Linked DNA regions of Homo sapiens: region 1 is linked to region 2. The links are contacts of gene promoters, found by promoter capture Hi-C in blood cells and fetal thymus (Javierre and others, 2016). All regions are on one chromosome and are shown on one strand. The core of a region is centred on a gene start or on the middle of the fragment in contact, and the rest is flanking DNA. Distances in the headings are between cores, read along the strand shown. Region 1 has its middle 21 kb from the start of MSTN. Region 2 holds the start of ANKAR (ankyrin and armadillo repeat containing).

Region 1 (5,424 bases), core at 303-2,802, 410 kb before region 2:
ATGGAATAGGTCAGGGTCTGGAAGTGATAAGTAGTGAGAATTAACATTTAGGAGATTCGTCATCTTCCTGCAAATAAACCACCTCAGGTGAAATTATTACAGGTTATCAGATGGAAGAGGAGGACTGCTCCTACTAACAACTAAGACTCAGTGGAGTTTGTTAATTCAGGCAACAATTGGTGATATTTTAAGGAATGTTTTGTCATTACATTGTACAAATTATCAGTATCCTATTTTCCATTGATAGTGAGGCCATTACTGATTTCAAGTCTAATCTATGTGTATGTTAACATCCGCAATGTGCTTATACTATGTGATAGATTTCTTTGGAGGAAGGGAAACACAAGTGAAGGATTTGTAGTTGGATTCATTAGAACCTACCCAAATATTTCCATTCACAGGATCCCACTCTACTAACCTATGCCTAGAAAGGCTGCACTGTAATGCTGAAAGCTGTAGAAGCAAATTTAGGTTTGTTTTTTGGCTATTTCAGCCCCACTGGTACAAGAAACAAGACAGTCTTTTAGGTAGTTTCTAGTGCAAGCAGAACCTTTCCCATGGCCTTCGTGCTCATAATTTCCACTATAATATTTTATTGCACCAGTTACTTCATCTCTTAAGCCTTGCTGCTGAGAGGCACCTGGTTACCAGCAACAAAAGCTGATCATTTAAGAAATGTTTTGTCACTGTATGGTATGGATGATCAGTGTCCTATTTTCCATTGACAGTGAGGTCATTACCAATTTCAAATCTAATCTATGTATACATTAACATCTACAACGTGCTCATACTATGTGATAAGTTGTTCAGGGGGAAGGGGAACACAAATGAAGGAAAGAAATGGCCCATGGCCTCAAGTACGTTGTGATCTTATAATCAGTAGCTAAAAGAGTTCTGCTAAACTTCAGAGAGGAAATGGGATTCTTTCAGCTGCCTCATTCCCTCTTCACTAGATGATCAGTGAACGCTATATTTGTTAAGCTGAATTAGAGACGAGAGAAACTATTTCTTGGAGTGCTAAGTACTGATCTCGTATTTCTCACAGAAGCGGTGTTAAAAATGACAGTTAAGCTTTCACACTAATTCTTCAAGGCCTATTGAACCCAAAATGTTACTGAAATACACTGTTATTTGCATATAAAATATTGTAAATATCTGGCAAAATTATGAATAGGCTTTAATTGAATAACCAGGAAACCTAATTACCATCCAGAGATTGTTCCTATGGTAAAATATATTTCATGTCTAATCTAATATGAGATTGAAAATATCCATTTCCTTTCCCTCCCCTCAAGCACATATTCCCTACCCTGGCATCTATGGTTAAAAGGGAGTCCTCCTCTCCTGGCCACTTCCCAATAATGCCATGTGGTCTGGCAATGAAGGAATCACCCCTGACTAGGTGTAAAGAGAAGGGTGGTTTGGGAAATGGTTGGCAGCAGGGGCAGAAAGTAGAAGATGGGCTTTACAGCCAGGCTGACTAGGAAAACTAGAAAAGTTTTCCCATGGCCTTTTCAATGCACTATATGCATCTGACCCCAACAGGAGGCCACCAGAGGCAGCATTCCCTCCATCTGTCCCCAGATAAAACCCTTTTCAAGAATACCTTTTACTTCTTTCATAATCAATATTTTACAGAATGTTAAGTAACTTGTCAAAGTCCATTTAGCAAGAAAATATCAAAGCCAAGGTTGAAAGTTAGGTTATCGTACTCCCGTGTCCCTTCCTGTATGTTTTTCAGTACTTTCTGGGAAAATACAATCACCTTAAAAATAGTCGACAAGTGGGTTAGAAGAAGGGATGTCAGTTAATTAAATGACTGAATCTCAGTTGTTTAGTCTGTAGACTGTAATCTGATTAAAGGAATTTTATTGTGTTTTTTGACTACGTGAATACATTAAAGAGTTATATAATACAGCCTCAAAAAAATAGTCAATAAGGGGCATTTTCCACCAATTTATCATGATAGATAAACTATACTTCCCATCAGTGGTCTCAAACCAGCCAACACATTAAAATCACCCAGAAGCTTTAAAATTAACTGAGCTCTAGCTGGGCAAGGTGGCTCATGCCTGTAATCCCAGCACTTTGGGAGGCTGAGGTGGGTGGATCACTTGAGGTGAGGAATTCGAAACCAGCCTGGCCAACATGGTAAAACCCTGTCTCTACTAAAAGTACAAAAATTAGCCAGGCATGGTGGTGGGCGCCTGTAATCCCAGGTACGTGGGAGGCTGAGGCAGAAGAATTCCTTGAGCCCAGGAGGCAGAGGTTGCAGTGAGCAGAGACCATGCCACTGCACTCTAGCCTGGGCAACAGAGCCAGACTCTGTCTCAGAAAAAAAAAAAAAAAAAACCTGAGCTCTACTCCAGACCAATTAAATTAGACTCTCTGGGGGTAGGGCTTTGTGCAAATTTAACCATTTGACTCTAATGTATGCCCAAGGTTCAGAAGCTCTGGTATAATATATTATAAAGAAAATAGGCTTCGGAGTCTCAAACCTAGGCTTGAAGTCAAGATCCGTAACTTGCTCGCTGTGTGACTTCAACAAGCAAGGTACTTAATTGTTTTAAGAGTGAGAAAGAAAAGAAACCTTCTCTGAGGAATGTAAGCCTCCTCTAAATTATCAGGCCCAAAGAGGCATGGGAGTAAGGCAGCAGTGACATCCCACTTTCCCTGCTTGAGCTCATCACCTCTTGAAGCTTCTTGCTATGTGGACTCTAGACTGACTGTCGCTGCAAATAGCTGTAAGTTAACCTAACAATGTTGCATGATGGACACCATAACTCACGCCCTAGAGTTCAACAATGTATAGCTAATCACTAATCAATGTCATTTCTGTAAACCAATGGGAATTCCTGAAAAACAACTTTGTATCAGCCCACCGTCTTCCTTTTTTGCCTATAAAAACCTACTTTTCACAAAGGTCAAATGGAACTCTTATACAAGGTTATCAGGTCTGAGTCTTCTGGGCAGCTGTCCTCATCTTGGCTCAAGTAAACTCATTAAAATTATATTTAGTGCCTCAGCTTCTTCCTTTAGGTTGACAAGAGAGTAGATTTTTAAAATTTTATTTTGAGACAGGATCTCTGTCGCCCAGCTTGGAGAGTAGCACGATCTCGGCTCACTGCAGCCTCCACCTCCCAGGCATCGATCCTCCCACTTCAGCCTCCCAAATAGTTGGGACTACAGGTGCACACCACCACACCTGGCTAATTTTTGTATTTTTAGTAGAGACGGGGTTTTGCCATATTGCCCAGGCTTGTCTCAAACTCCTGAGCTCAAGTGATCCACCCGCCTTGGCCTCCCAAAGTGCTGGGATTACAGGGGTGTGCCACCGCACCCTGCCAAGAGAGTAGATTTTAAGTGTTTCACCATGCACAAAAAATAAATATGTGAGATAATACATATGTTAAATAGCCTGGTTTAGCCATTCCATAATGTATGCATATATCAAAACATCATGTTGTCTACCATAAATATATACAATTTTTACTTGTCAATTTAAAAAGTGTTAAGTTTTATAAGGATCAGGGAGAATGTATTTGAGCATCTCACATTACATTTGGAACAAGTAGAAACACAATAAATGGTAGCATTAATACTGGAAAACTGCTATAGTGGAGAGAAAGTGGGTTTAGAATTGGATATACCTGGCTCCAAATCCCATTTCTACCATGTTTAGTCTTTGATAAGTTAAACGTTCTGTGCCTTAGCTTCCTAATTTGTATAATGGTTAGAATAATTCCTATTTTAAAGAATTGCTATGAGAATTAAATGAAATAACATTTGTAAAACATCTAGCACATTACTTCTATTGTTTGCAATCCAGCTGTACTAGTAAAACTGCCCGTGAAAACAGTCATAGAATATTCCTTATATTTAGAAATGTTCTGTTTTCGATGTGGGCATGTATAGGTTCTATGTTTAGTGTAATAAATGTATATAACAGAATAAATTCTATTTATCCTATACTATTAACTATATCAACTGAAGAATGATGAGATTCAGAAATTTGGAAAGGAGAGCTTTATTTCACATAAAGGGTTGTAGCCTGCAGGTGGCCATCCTGACAGGCTGGGAAGCATGGCCTCTGGCCAGAAGCCAGAAACAGATACTTCAAGGGTCAGAAGAGTAAGACAGGAATTTATGCTGAATGGGGTGGCCAAATGTGCATATTCAATAAGCTATAGGAAAAGTCATGAATATTTATGAAAGGAGAAACATATGCATGCCCACATGAACTTCATGCCTCTTCATGGGATCCATGTTAGAAAAATGGCTGTCGGCATGATCCAAGGGTGGAGTTTTCAGCCCTCTGGCATCAAAAGGTAAAGTAGAGGGCACAAAAACCCTCACTGTGCATACTCCACAGACTGGCCAGAACCACTCCATACTCAGTGGTCTCTTACCAGGTAAAAAGGAGGGAAAATGTCAGGTGGATAGCTGTATCAGTGGTAGAGTCTTCAGAAAGGGCTGGTTTCTATTTAGCCCCTAGGGGAGAAAGCCCATCCCATCATGGCTGGGAACTCAGTTTTCAAAGTTTCTCTGGGGTCCCCTTGGCCGAAAGATGTGGTTCTGTTAAGTCAGTTGTGGAATGGGGGGTGCTTAGGATTTCATTTTTATTTTTACCTACTATACCATAGAATAAAGCTTCAAGATTTGGTGGCTGGATATAATGAAGAGACTTACTGAGGAGAGGGCAAGTGGAACCCACTGAGTTAGTGAGCTGGAAGGGAAATGCAGGCATCTCGCCCTTCCATCTATAGGGGAGTTTAAATTTTTCCCCCAAGGGTTTAATAATTTAAGTCTATAAAACAAACTAATAGAATAACAGAAAAAAGGCACGCAAATTGACTAACATGCTCATGTATGCACAGGAGTCATGCAAAATATGAAAAAGTCAAAAAAGGCAAGATGGTTAATGCTTAAATATTTGCCTCACTGGGGAGAGGTAAGATGCGGGTTAGGAGTAAATAATTTTCAGGGGAAAAGAATGAGCCCACAAAACAATTCTCTGGAACTAAGTTCCTCTGGGCTCTGGCGGACATGGAGTCACAGGGTATGGGAGGGAGAGGAGAGGAAAGGCATGGGTTAAAGGAGGTCTTGTAATGCAGATGAAAATATCTCAGGTAATGTCAGGGATGCCCTCAGAAAAAATAGATGGTAGCTTGTGCTTGAGTTAATCTTTCCTAGATCCAGGGAAGGAGTTGTGGCAGGGGATGGGGGGATGGGAGGATGGGGGGATGGGGGTTGGCTCAGAGAAAGCATGGCTGTTGATTTCACTGATGAACATTTTCTTTACAAATACAAATCTCCTCCACCAAAAGACAACCTTGCAGGGCCATTCCTTTCTGCAGACCCTCTCAGTATCCATCTTAAAATATGTTTTTTAAGTATATTTTGGAGTAAAATAGTTTTAGTTTC
Region 2 (5,628 bases), core at 1,453-3,952:
TCTCAGAAATCACCACTAAAGAACTTAGCCATGTAACCAAAAACCACCTGTTCCCCCAAAAACTATCGAAATAAAATTTAAAAATTTTAAAAATGGCATTGAATAAAAATAATTAAGAAGTGGCCAGGTGCAGCGGCTCATGCCTGTAATCCTAGCACTTTGGGAGGCCTAGGTGGGTGAATGGCTTGAGCTCAGGGGTTCGTGACCACCCTGGGTGACGTAGTAAGACTCTGTTCCAAAAAAAAAAAAAAAAAATTTAAGAAGTGTTAAATTCTCTTACCTGCTGAACTAAACTCTGAAAAAATGTCTTTATTTGTTTGAGGTTTTCCATCAGGATCAATGTCCATGATGGCACGCCACAATTCAGAGAATCTAGCTCGTTTTTCTTTGGGCATATATATTCCATGCCATAGTGCTTTCAGCATGTAGTCAATATTGATCAGAATTTGCCCAATTCTGGTATCATAATAAGCTGGAGGTAATTGACAAGAAGAACTCTGATCATAATTAGCTTCTAAACTGATGGAAGGGATTTGATTTAGGCAATAAATTCCAATAGCCAACTCTCTTATCATTTGATGGACCTCTCTATAGTCTAAGAGGGCAGTAGGGTCCACGGGAGTCAGTAGGATTGCAGTGGAGAAGCCTACGTTATTCATTTGACTCATAATTCCACATGGGAGGTCTACTTGAGAGCGCACATCCTCTTTGGCAGACAACCAGCTAACTAGTGCAGTAGTTAGTAACTCTTGTATTTCACTCCGATCATATTTTTCAAAAAAAGCAGATGCATTTCTTTGTATTGCTAAATTTTCCAGGTAGGTGTCTTCATCCTGAACTTGCTCAAATCTAGGTAATCCTTTTTTGGGCAATCTTAACATTTCTAATTAAATCTAGTGTGTCCTTTTTGAAGCTTCTGCAATGAATAAGAAGGAAAAGATTATCAATAAAATCTGACATGCCAATGAAACTGGATTTGTCTAGAAATAAATCTGTACCTTTCACCTACATAAGATTAATTTTTCATGGTCAACCATTATAGTTTTCAAATTAAAAATAACTGCAGTATATGAAAACTGAAATTTGAATTAAAATAATTAAAATTATAAAACCTTTATCATTAACCATGTTCTGCTTTTCAAAGAATTCAAAAGACAAGAAGATGTATGTCAAAAAGAAACGTTAAGTTTATCTGTGAGAAGCTACTGTTACATACCTATTTTGTTGTTGGAGAGGCATTCTTTTGTATATGTTCGTGTTAGTCTGTTTGTGTTGCTATAAAGGAATACCTGAGACTGCATAATTTATAAAGAAAAGAGGTTTATTTGGCTCACAATTCTGCAGGCTGTACAAGCATGGCACCAGCATCTGCTCAGCTTCTTGTGAGACCAAGCTTACAATCATGGCGGAAGGGGAAGGGGAGCCAGTGTGTCACATGGTAAGAGACGGAACAATAGAGAGAAAGGGGAGGTGTCTACTCTTAAACAACCAGATCTTTCATGAGCTCAGAGGTAGAGTTCACTCTGCCAGGAAAGCACCAAGCCATTCATGAGGGATCCACCCCCATAATCCAAACACCTCGCACCAAGCCCTACCTCCAACATTGGGGAATCTATTTTAACATGAGATTTGGAGGGGATAAATATCCAAATCATATGGATATTTATTTTGTTTTCAGTTTTTTAAAGCAAGACTATACTGACCTGCATGAAAGAAAAGAAAAGGGTGGGGCGCAGTGGCTCATGCGTGTAATCCCAGCACTTTGGGAGGCCAAGTCGGGCAGATCAACTGATGTCAGGAGTTCGAGAACAGCCTGACAAACATGGAGAAACTCCGTCTCTACTAAAAATACAAAATTAGCCAAACGTGGTCGTACATGCCTGTAATCTCAGCTACTCGCGGGGCTTGAGACAGGAGGCTGAACCCAGGAGGCGGAGGTTGCGGTGGCCTGGGCAACAAGTGTGAAAAACACTGTTTCAAAAAAAGAAAAAAAAAAGAAAAAGAAAAGGAAAGAAGCATTTGCTTAACCTTCAATTTCTGTGCCAATGAATGCCTGTCTATTCCTGAAATAATAATAACCACAACTACTATTTATTGAGCCAGGTTCTTTACTATATAATGGTTTGATTTATTTCATCTGATTGGTCTCTATTATATAGTGGTTCTCAAAATTTAGCTTGTATCAAAATCACCTGGGGCTTGTTCAAATACAAATCGCTGAATCCCACCACTGAGTTTCTGATTCAATGAGCTGTAGTGGGGCCAGAAAATATGCGTTTTAGTAAAGTTACAGGAAATGCTGATAGTGCTGGTTTGGGCGCCACACCTGAGACCCCAGGTCAGTGAGTCAGACCTTGTTATGCCCACTTTATAGAGGCAAAAACGGAGACCAGGAGGTTGCAGGACAAGTCTGAGGTTTTACGCCTTTCAGAAACAGAACCCACGTCTGTCCAGTCAAGCCCGGGACCCACGTCCAAAAGCAGCTCGCGTCAGCCATGGGCACGGGAAAGGGGAAAAAACAAGGAAAGGGGAGGAACCTACTCTAGAATGGCTGTTTTCTTGTCCGGGAGAGGGACGCTGCGTCCGCGGCGTTCCCGTGGGGCTGAGAACAGTCGTCGCCGCCTCAGATGGCTTCTCGCGGGGCCTTGAATCCGCCCTCAGGGCCTCCGCAAGGGCGAGCGGGAGGCGCACCGGAAGGAACTGAGAGGAACTTTCAGGGCTTTTCGCCCCACCGTGGCGGCCCGGCCCTCCTCGCCTCGCCGGCCAACACTGCCGCCGCCCGGGCGCGGGTCGAAGCGGTTGGTCCTCCGGGCCCTGGGGTGGCTGGGCTGCTCCTCGGGCGGAGCCTGCGGGCGACTAGGCCTGGTGCGTCCCGCAGCAGCCGCAGCGCCCCCAGGCGGCGCCCGGCCCCTTGGCTGGCTCAGACCCCCCGCGTGCGCATCATCCCAAGCCCGCTTAGCGCTTAGTCCAGCGGCATGCCGTGGGCACTGTGCCGCCCTCACTATCTGCCTCTGCTAAAACACCGAAACAGAGTAGCAGAGGAGACAGCGCCGGGCGTTGAGGCAGTCCCGAGTTGGAATACCACCTCCATCATCATTCTTTCATTCAACAAGCATTTATGGAACACCTATTATGAGTCAGGCACCCAGCTACAAGCTGGAAACCCTAGAAAACAGGGCAGACACGAAACCCCAAGGAGCTTACAGTTGAACAGATCATCTCACAGCTATATTTAACAGTGTGCCAATATTAGATGGAATGACAGCACTCGAATGAAAGCTAACCTAGCCCAGGGCTAGGAAAGGCTGCCTAAGGAAGTGCCCTTTTCCCCTCCGAGCCTAGAAGATGGAAAAGAGCTACCCAAGCAAAGGACTGGACAAGTAGCTTTTCAGGAACAGGGAACAGCAGGAGAGAAAGAATTGAAGTGAGAACAAAGTTGAAATGGTTGAGAAACCGCAAAACCCTGCTTAGAGAACAAGAGAGATGTGGGCACAAACCGAGCTGCTGAGGTGCGCGATGGACAGATCATGCAGGCTGCTGAGTAATGATTTTGAATTTCATCCCAAAGGATTAGCCTACAGTAGTGGCAGTGGAGGTGGGGCTCAGGGACTGTGGACAGATTTGAAAAATAATGAGGTTGCCTGTTGGTGACAGATTGGGGATATGTTGAAAAAGAAGGTTGTGTCCAAGTCAGAACCACATTTCTGTCAGGAGCAACAGGATATCAGGGCAAGATTAAGAGTTCAGTTATGTACTAATTGACCTTGAAGTACCTGTGAGAGAAATTGAGATGTGAGATATGCTTTAGATAAACAGTTCTGGGCTAAGAATGGCAGTAGGGGTTAGATGTATAAATTTTGGCAGATTTATAGTAATTGAAGCCAGGAGTGGGGTTGAAATCACCAAGGGAGAGCGTGCAGAATGAGGAGTTGAGAACCAAGGATTAGAGACCTGAGAAATTTAACATTTAAACGTCAGGTAGAGAGAGTGAAGTCAGCAAAGAAGACAAAAAGAACAGCCAAGAAGGCAGGAGGAAAACCAAAATTGGTCACAGAAGCCAAAGAAGTGTGTGGAAAAAAAAAAAGGAATGGCCAACTTTATCGGATGCTGCTGCTCGGTCAGGGGAGATGAGAACAAACTTCCACTGAATGCAGCAGCTTGGAAGTTCTTGGTGACTGTTTGGGGCAGAATTTCTCTTCCAGTAACCATGTCATTATTTTAGCTACTATGGAAATAAATATTAATAAATTTATGAGGACTATTCCAGGGCTTTTTTTTTTACAAAGATTTGCATGTTTGCACTTAAGAAATATGAACCATATATGTACATTCTCCTACTTCAAGGATTGTTTCCCCCTGGGTAGCCAAATGGTTTGTTCCATGTGTCTCAAATCTTCGGAAAGAGATGCCTCATTTTTTAAAGGATCAACACAGAACTCCATCCCAGAGCTAATGGGATTGAATAGCAGAAGGTTGTAAATGCCCAGGCCCTCTTGGGGTTCACACACATGCATGTGTATCCTCTCTCTGTCTCTCTCAGTATTCTGGTGGAGCAGATGACCTGGAAATTCCTTATAAAAGTTTGACTGATTAATACATTTAAATCTCATAGAGTAGAGTAGCACCTGGAATATAGCATTATGTAAGTTATAGCTATTTTCAGTATTAAACTGTATTGGTGTTATAATATTCAATTCTAGGCCGTGGGGCAAACCTCTTAAGTTCATCTACTCCCAATATAAGCAATGTCAATTTAGTGCTCAGGCCCACACAGACACTTGAAGTTGTCTGCTTTCAGATTGAGGGATGAAAGCTATGTAGGCAGTATCTAAATTTTGGTTGAACATTGCATCTTCCAGGGAATAAATTCGGGGCATGTGAAAGCCTTTGCCAGGTTACTGACCTGTTTGTCCGGATCCTAAAATTTATTTGCTACTGTGATTAAAGAATCAAAGGGTGGCCAGATCCAGAAATGGTGTCGATCCTAATGGACAGATTTCACAGTGACACTGGTATGGCAGTTAACAGTTGAGTAATGTGGGTGGATGTCAGGTTGGAGTAAATAGACAAAAAGGTGGAGAGAGTGACTGTGGATGAGAGGCAAGACATAGTAAGTAGAGGAAGACGTAATTATTCTTGTCTTCAGGTTGAGTAGGCTGAGGAGGAGAAGGGGCTGTCTCGGGGTGGCAGAGGCAGAAAATCCACATATAAGTGGAACTGCACAGTTCAAATGTGTTGTTCAGGGGTCAACTGTAGTCTTTAAAAGTTACTGGGGTGGGAAAATGAGCTGCCTAAAAAGATGTAATAGAAGTAACAAGTACTGTTCAGGAGGATGAACCTCAAGCAAATTGTTTAGCTTCTTTAAACCTGTAGTTCTTTTATCCATGAAACAGGACCCTGTCTAAACCATGGTCCCTGAAGAGAGGGAACTGAATCATTTCTGGATGGAGTGATCAAAGAGAGTGAGTCTGGGAAAACAAACTGTTTCTCTTCACTCTCACACAACACTTCTGACACCAGATGTGTGGATTTTTTCCACCAGATGTGTGGAGAATTACCAAGCAATTCTCCAGCTCTCTGAATACCAGCTGGGTATCCTACAGTTTAATCCTGCCTCTATCTACCTGG

Evidence for each region. The method cuts DNA at HindIII sites, captures the fragments that hold promoters and counts their contacts. A CHiCAGO score of 5 or more calls a contact.
Region 1: a fragment that was not itself captured here is called in contact with the fragment with the promoter of ANKAR in region 2 in 5 of 17 cell types (M2 macrophages, total B cells, naive B cells and 2 more); the score reaches 8.1 in M2 macrophages.

The regions. Positions count from the first base shown.
Region 1 is chr2:190,081,019-190,086,442 of GRCh38, reverse strand. It overlaps a transcript of AKAP19 not described here. Among named protein-coding and RNA genes, the nearest start is that of MSTN, 21 kb to the right of the region's middle. The HindIII fragment of the contact is 958 bases long and covers 1,074-2,031 here.
Region 2 is chr2:189,671,744-189,677,371 of GRCh38, reverse strand. It overlaps ANKAR (ankyrin and armadillo repeat containing), which reads right to left and starts at 2,702. Exons shown (of 23, transcript NM_001378068.1): 1 at 2,542-2,702; 2 at 281-916. The coding sequence starts at 881. It overlaps LOC105373793 (a long non-coding RNA gene), which reads left to right and starts at 3,087. Exons shown (of 2, transcript XR_923692.3): 1 at 3,087-3,541; 2 at 3,979-4,252. RefSeq lists an enhancer at 2,317-2,576 and a silencer at 2,627-3,046. The HindIII fragment of the contact is 6,953 bases long and covers 1,396-5,628 here.